3 separate regions of the Homo sapiens genome follow, and all the other regions are linked to region 2. Evidence: promoter capture Hi-C in human tissues and cell types (Jung and others, 2019). All regions are on one chromosome and are shown on one strand. The core of a region is centred on a gene start or on the middle of the fragment in contact, and the rest is flanking DNA. Distances in the headings are between cores, read along the strand shown.

Region 1 (2,700 bases), core at 112-2,611, 1.4 Mb before region 2:
AGAGCTTACCTGAAAGAGATTTGTGGGTATAACTTTTGTCTAATGAAGTGAACCCCAGTAAGATTCACAGACCTACATGGGTGGTGGGGTGGTATTTCAGAATTAAAATGGGCCAGTTACTCCTTGGCACCTGCCATTTCCCCCCCTTTTTGAAAAGGAATAACTAAGCCTCTATCCTGCTACACCTGTCTCATCGTTGTATGTTGGGTATATAGAGGGGAAGATAAATTGTCTCTTCGGTGTCACAGGTGGAGAGGAACTGTACTCAAGGAGCTCTGCTTAAGGAGTTTTACCCGAGGAGCCTCATCTGCACCTGGACTTCAAGCTGATGCTGTAAAGAGGGGAGACTTTTGGTGACTTTGGGAAGAAGTGAGTGTAACTTGCATGTGGGAGCAACAAATCATTGGGGACAGATGGTGGACTGTGGTAGCTACCCTCCAAAATAGCTCCCTATTATTATTATTATTATTTTTTTTTTTTGAGACAGGGTCTCACTCTGTCACCCACCCAGACTGGAGTGCAGTGGTGTGATCTCAGCTCACCACAACCTCTGCCTCCCAGGCTCAAGTGATTCCCCTGCCTCAGTCTCCTGATAGCTGGGATTATAGGCGTGCACCACCACTGCCCAGCTAATTTTTGTATTTTTAGGAGAGATGGGGTTTCACCATTTTTGTATTTTTAGTAGAGATGGGGTTTCACCATGTCAGCCAGGCTGGTCTTGAACTCCTGACCTCAAATGATCCACCCTCCTTGGCCTCCCAAAGTGCTGGGATTACAGGCATGAGCCAGCGCGCCCGGCCAGCTCTCAGTTATTTTTGCCTCCTGGTATTCACAGCCTAGTGTAGCCCCTGCACACTCTGTATCACAGTTGGTCTGTGACCAATAGCATGTGGCAGAAGTGATGGTATATAACTTCTGAGATTAGGTTACAAAAAGACTGCAGCTTCCATCTTGGTCTTGGACTCTCTCTGTCTCCCCCTTCTTCTTCCTAGTGGAGAAGCAAGCTGCGTTGTTGTGTGCAGCTCTGAGGAGAAGCCCACCTGGCAGAAGGAAACTGTGTCCTGGCCACAACCGTGTGAGTGAGCTTGGAAGTGAGTGCCTCAGTCCTACGTTAGCCTTGAGAGGCCTGCAGCCCCAGCCCACATCTTGACTGAAACCTCATGAGAAACCCTGAGCCAGAACCACCAGCTGAGTCACTGACAGGTTACTAAATCTCAGGAACTGTGTGAGATAAAATGCTTGTTGTTTTAAGCTGTGATGTTCAGAGATAATGTATTATATGGCAATAGATAACAAACATACTATACCCCAGGAGCCAGGACTGCCCAACAGAGTTGGGACTGTGGAGAGAAGAACTGTTCATTTGCAGTTCGCGCCATAAAGATACAGCCAATACTGAGGCACAGGGAGAGGGAAAATCCTAGCTTCCTCATGGCCCCTCATTTGCCACCCTTGCCTCCATTGGCCAAACCAAACCACAAGGAAATTGATAAGGGAGCCTGAGAAATGTCATTTCCAAGGAGCAGCCTCTAGCTACAGTAAGCCTGGACAACATGGTGAGACCTTGTCTATACAAAAAATTTAAAAAATTAAGTGGGCATGGTGGTGCACGCCTGTGGTCCCAGCTATTCAGGAGGCTGAGGTAGGAGGATTGCTTGAACCCAGGAGGTCGAGGCTGCAGTGAGCCATGTTTGCACCACGGTACTCCAGACTGCACTCTAGTGTGGGTGACAGAATGAGACCCTATCTCAAAAAAAAAAAAGGTCAGTCATGGTGGCTGACACCTGTAATCCCAGCACTTTGAGGGGCTGGGGCAGGCAGATCACTTGAGGTCAGGAGTTGAAGACCAGCCTAGGCAACACGGTGAAACCTTGTCTCTACTAAAAATACAAACATTCAAAAATTAGCCGGGCACGGTGGTGGGCACCTGCAATCCCAGCTACTTGGGAGGCTGAGGCATGAGAATCGCTTGAACCCAGGAGGCAGAGGTTGCAGTGAGCCAAGATCACACCACTGAACTCCAGCCTGGGCGACAGAGCAGGACTCTGTTTCAAAAAAAAAAAAAGAACAGAGGCAAATTAACAGCACAGCCAAGAACTCTTTTACATGGAATTCCCAGTAGCATTCTTCAAAACCTTGTCCTCAAACTCCAGTTTGGGAAACACTAGCCTAAATTGCTCTTTTCCACATCTCTGCAAGTTCCAATCTTATTCATTAATTCGTATCTATTTAAAATGCAAAGTTTTTCTCCACTAACCTTTTCTTCCTTGTGACTTGGGGTAGCCCCCTCTTCTTTCAATTCCACAACATTTGATCTATATCAATTTTTCGCATTTTCAAATAAAAATTGTAGTTATTTATTTCATATCTTATCATCTGAGAATTAAAAATCTTCTTGAGAGTCAGCTCTATTTCTGATGCATTGTTTCATATTGCTCAATCATCACAGTACCTAGCATAGAACCTTGCACATAGTAAACATAAATATTATTAAATGAATGAATGAAGTAATGTCAAAACCAGTGGTAGAAATGTTATATAACTCTAGTACTTTTGTTTATGTTACTATTTATTTATTTATTTAGAGATGGAGTCTTGCTCTGTCACCCAGGCTGAAGTACTGTGGTGCAATCTCGGCTCACTGCAGCCTCCACCTCCCGGGTTCCAGCGATTCTCATGCCTCAGCCTCCCGAGTAGCTG
Region 2 (2,700 bases), core at 109-2,608:
CTGTCGCCCAGGCTGGAGTTCAGTGGCACGATCTCTGCTCATGGCAATCTCCGCCTCCCAGGCTCAAGCAATTCTCCTGCCTCAGCCTCCTGAGTAGCTGGGATTACAGGCGAGCGCCACCATGCCGAGCTAAATTTTATATTTTTTTGTAGCGACGGGGTTTCACCATGTTGCCAAGGCTGGTCTCGAACTCCTGAGCTCAAGCAATCCATCCGCCTTAGCCTCCCAAAGTGCTGGGATTATAGGCTTGAGCCACCGCGCCCATCCTGTTTTGTTTTTTAATAGGACCAGGTCTCAGAACCACAAAACAATGTAAGGAAGACTCCTGCTGTACCCCTTGGTCTGTTGTTAACATAAATTACAAGGGTGAGAGAACCAGATCATGGGATGGGAATTTACTGCAATTTTATGTTGAGATAGTGAAAATACACATGGTACAATATTTCAAGACCAAACGGAACAAGTGACATGATATCACTCTACCTTCCAATTAAACCTGTTGGGAATCTATGAGTAAATCACAATTTAAATCACATTCGTAACCCCCTGCTACTATAACAAATAAGTCAAGTAATTATTTGACTAGTAGCAAGTAGTCAAATAACTAACATAAACTAATACGTTGTTACAGCCCTTTACCCTTTCCCGTCACATCAGTAAATCCTGATCCTAGAATGTTTCATGACCCTCTGAATCACTGAGATTTTAAGAGCATGGAGTCGGCTTGGTTAAGGTTAAAAGAGGACTGACAGCAATATCAAAGATCTCTTACAGGGCTCAGGGAAGCCCACAACCTGGAACTCATCTTGAAGGCACCGAAAACCATTTTTAAGTAGGGAGCATTCACACCTGATGTGAAAACTCTAAACCTGTGCGCCCCACCTCCTACAACCAAAACACCCTCTGCCCCAAGGAGCAGAGCCACCACCTCCTCAGAGGATACCTGCACCTCCAGCCCCTCAGCCCTCTCATTCTCATCCCATTCTTGCTTTCTCGAACCACAGTCTCCCAAGCCCTGCCCTTTAAGGGCCCTGTCTCCTGGGGACGACCCTCGCCAGCCACTCAGGCCCCAGTCTCCTGAAAGACACTCGTACGGCGCTGCCCACTTAACCTCCAACACGGAGCCACCGCTGCCCCCGGCCGCCCTCCGGCCCCTTGCACTGTTCCCCTCCCCCTCCAGTATCGACACCTCTCTCCTGTCGAATTCCTGCCAGCCCGACCCAGTCCCCTCACGCCGCCAGTCCCTCGTCCTCCCCAAGCCTCCCCAAAGCCAAAGCCCTGCCAGCCCTCTCACCGGCCGCCCCGCCGGTTAACGCTAGTCTCCAGCTCTAGGCTCACTGTTTGGAGTCTCCCCGAGTGATTGACGGCAGCCACTTCCTACCACGCCTCAGCGGAACCACCCCCTCTAGCCAATCCCAGAAGCAAACCGGCTATGGCCGGGCACCGCCCTTGGAGGTCAGCTTCGCCAACCAGCAAGTAGGAAAGAGGCGGACCCGCCTTCTGAATGTGTCCAATCCGCTGGGGCTGGAGGGAAAACACAACAGCATGTAAGTTCGGGTGAAGCCGAGGTGTCAGGTTCGGTTGCAAACGCAGGCAGCTGGGGAATAATTACGAACATGTACATTTTTTTTGGAAGACAGAACCTTCGTGGCTTTGAAAAGAAAAGCAACATGATCCAGACTCCTGTCCCGCTCACGTGAGCGTTTCAGGTTGGAGCCGGAGGACAGGGAGACTGGTCTGTTTACATCGAATTCTCGCGACAGCTGGTTCCAAGCTCGGAGCACGTGGACATGGCAGCTGCCAATCACTTTTAGCTGGCCACTCACCCGTCCCACACCCGCCTTCTGCCCAGCCCTTGGCGATGTGTTTACCTTCCGGGAGCCTAGGCTGGCTCGCGCCGGCGATCAGCCGAGGAGGGGTTGATCTGAATAAGGGGCACGGCCGGTAATCTCAACAATTTGAGCTAGGTTTGTAGACCACTTCTTGCTTCAGTTTCCATCTCCCTTATTGTTGAAGATCGAGATCTCGCCATTGTCATTTCATCAGTTCATTTATTAATATAAGTAGAATAATACTGACTGACTTCTTGAACACTCAGCACAGGCCTTCGTATACTTCATATACAATACTCTAATGTATTATCAAATTTAATGCCAATGACAGGTCCGTGAGGGTATAGCTTATTAACAGGCGTGGTGGGCTGGGCGTGGTGGCTCACGCCTGCAATCCCAACATTTTGGGAAGCCTAGGCGGGAAGATCGCTTGAGGCCAGGAGTTCTAGAACAGCCTGGACAACATGAAGAAACCCCGTCTCTACTAAAAATAGCCAGGTGTGGTGGCCAATGCCTGTAATCCTAGCTACTGGGGAGGCTGAGGCGGAAGAATTGCTTGAACCCAGGAGGCGGAGATTGCAGTGAGCCTATAGATCACGCCATTGCCCTCCAGCACTTTAGCCTGGGTGACAGAGAGTCCCTCTCAAGACAGATAGATAGATAGATAGATAGATAGATAGATAGATAGATAGATACATACATACATACATACATACATACATACATACATACATACATAAAATTTTAAAAAATTTTAAAAAAAGAAATGAAAGAAAAGGCCGGGCACGGTGGCTCACACCTGTAATCCCAGCACTTTGGGAGGCTGAGAGGGGCAGATCACTTGAGGTCAGGAGGTCAAGACCAGCCT
Region 3 (2,700 bases), core at 199-2,698, 1.4 Mb before region 2:
TTATTTGACAGAAGTGCCATTTACAATTTAAGTCTTTAAATTTTTAAATTTCTCCCCCAAGTAAAGGGTCCTGTACTGAATAATAATCATGGGAATAATTTGTTTGAAATGAGACCTAAGGTGGCTGATAGTGCACCGCTTGTTAGGCTCTGTGCCAACAGCTTCCTTTTTATTCATCACTTAGTGTTGTAGTGGAGTCGTGGATTAGAATGCTGATGGACATGAAATGTTTTGACTTTAATTATTAACTGGCTAGTTTTTTTGGCAGGTTGAATGACTAGGGGAATTAGGACAAAGTAACAAGTGAGCCAGCTTAGAAATTGGCATCATAGGTGTAGAGTGTGTTTAATATTTTCCAGGTTATACAAACAAGTGTCCTTTTCATTAATACAGGAACCAATTCAGTATGTTCATGATGTCATTGAATTTTATAAGGTGGAAAAATACTTTTCAGGTAATTTAATAGAATATGTGGCACTTAGACCTTTTATTCCTTGTGGAGTAACTTTGAAACCTGATAATGTCTAGAGATACATTGAAGTGATTGTAGCTTAATATTCTGGGGTAAGCTAGTGTTGATGAATATAGAGTTTAAACTGTAACCTTTTTTACTTGGCTCTGAATAGATTATAGTGTCACTATTTTATTATTTCCTTCATTTCTCTTTTAGAAGAAGAAGATGGAGTGTGGGAGAATGGACTTTCCTATGAATGCCGTACTCTGCTTTTCAAAGCAGTTCACAATCTATTGGAACGGTGTTTAATGAACAGGAATTTTGTACGTATTGGCAAGTGGTTTGTAAAGCCTTATGAAAAAGATGAAAAACCTATAAATAAAAGGTAAGCTATCTTAAATTCTGACGTGATATTTCTTTAGATTTGTTCCTTTTTGTGTCTTAACAGAGAATGTGGGATAAAACAAGCTAATATACAGACATATTCCAGAGGTTGTCAGTGACAGAGTACTAGATACAGTCAGGTTTTTTTTTTTTTTAAACCACTTTACAAACTTCCCTTTATACACTTTAAGCATTTTCTTACTGTAGGAATAGGCTGTATTTTAATACAGTGGCCTAAATTTTGATTTGTGATGATAGACTTAATGTGGGATGAAAGCAGAGACTTAGGCTTGGAAGTATCTTTTTTTTAGTATTTGTGGAAATATATGCACAGCACTCTGATATTAAAATTAAGTAACAACACCTGTTAAGGATAGTGATCTGTGAGTATGTTTTGGATCAAGTTAACCCTTCTTATTCCCAATCTCTCAATTCCCTTTAATTAAAGTAATTTAAATTTGTGTTTTCTATATAAGACCATTTACTCTTTGAGAGCTTATAATTTTCTTGAGCAATGAATTAAGCAAATTTATGACACTACTTATTAGACTAGTTGCAGATAGAGGCACAGAAGACTTATGATAGATACCTCCTTCTCCTATGCAATTAAAACCTTCAGGTTACTCGCTTCTCCGTGATTTAGATAATATAAGGCATAGTCTCTCAAAAGATTTAAGTTCCCAGCAGTCATTGAGTTAGTGAGACTTCAAGAGAGATGAACCAGTGGCAAGTAAGTTGGGATGTGGGGAAGAGAAAACTAAAGGGAACTTACTAATTTTTCCTGAAAGATGTGAGAGGATGTGAAGTGAACATTTGGTTGAGATTGTAATCATTTTGAGGTCTTTGATGTCATATATGCACATCTTTTTTCATGTGCACCTGGAGTTTTTGTTTGTTTGTTTTTTCAAACTTTTTAGTTTTAGTAAGACTGGATGAGTAGATAAGCCTGGATAAATAAAGGTGCTTTCATTTTTTTTCCTCTTTGAAAATTAACGTAAACCTTTATTGTTAACAAAATACTTGTGTAAGTTCAGAATGCATTCAGCTGGAAATGACAGAACAACATTAACTACTTGGCTTATGTAGGGATTGATTTTTCTCAGTAGCAAGCAGTATGGAGGTCGATAGTTTAGTACTGGTATAGCTGTTCAATAATGTCATCAAGGATTCAAAGTTCCCCAGAGTTTTCTCTGTGCCATTTTTACATCTTCATGGTCCTCCCGTGTGTTGCACCTCCAGACCTCACAGTGGATTCCAGGCAGGAAGAGAAAGGAAGGGAGGAAGTAAGGAAGGTGTGGCACCTGAGTCAGAAAGTAAATTATTTTCTGGAAACTTTAGTTGACATATCTTTGGCCATACTAAGAGAAACAAATATCTTTTATTTGGAAACAGCTGCTCTGAACAAATGAAGTTTTTGTTAGTAAGAAGAAAGGGCTGATAGATATTAGATAGATACCAAAGATCAAAGAAGTGGAAATGGATATTGGGTAGGCAGTTAACAATATCTGCCATATACATTTATTTATTTATTTTGAGACAAAGTCTCACTCTGTTGCCCAGGCTGGAGTGCAGTGGTGCAATCTCAGCTCACTGCAACCTCTGCTTCCCAGGTTCAAGTGATTCTCCTGCCTCAGTCTCCCAAGTAGCTGGGATTATAGGCGTGTGCCACCACACCTGGCTAATTTTGTGTATTTTTAGTAGAAACGGGGTTTTGCCATGTTGCCCAGGCTTGTCTTGAACTCCTGAGCTCAGGCAATCCACCCGCCTCGGCCTCCTAAAGTGCTGGGATTACAGGCGTGAGCCACTGCTCCCAGCCAGGCATATAGATTTATGTAGTTTTAAGAAGTCAAACAGATTACCAA

What was found. Contacts are between HindIII fragments. The study calls those that stand out against the background at their distance.
Region 1: a contact is called between a fragment that was not itself captured here and the fragment with the promoter of BCAS3 in region 2, in 1 of the 25 tissues and cell types used here (heart right ventricle).
Region 3: a contact is called between a fragment that was not itself captured here and the fragment with the promoter of BCAS3 in region 2, in 1 of the 25 tissues and cell types used here (lymphoblastoid cells).

What each region holds. Positions count from the first base shown.
Region 1 is chr17:62,073,938-62,076,637 of GRCh38, reverse strand. No RefSeq gene overlaps it. Among named protein-coding and RNA genes, the nearest start is that of MED13, 10 kb to the right of the region's middle. The HindIII fragment of the contact is 7,334 bases long and covers 1-2,700 here.
Region 2 is chr17:60,676,509-60,679,208 of GRCh38, reverse strand. It overlaps BCAS3 (BCAS3 microtubule associated cell migration factor), which reads right to left and starts at 1,358. Exons shown (of 24, transcript NM_017679.5): 1 at 1,295-1,358. RefSeq lists enhancers at 1,317-1,466, 1,637-1,806 and a silencer at 1,225-1,978. The HindIII fragment of the contact is 19,476 bases long and covers 1-2,700 here.
Region 3 is chr17:62,050,676-62,053,375 of GRCh38, reverse strand. MED13 (mediator complex subunit 13) reads left to right here. Exons shown (of 30, transcript NM_005121.3): 3 at 671-839. Among named protein-coding and RNA genes, the nearest start is that of MED13, 13 kb to the left of the region's middle. The HindIII fragment of the contact is 4,493 bases long and covers 1-2,700 here.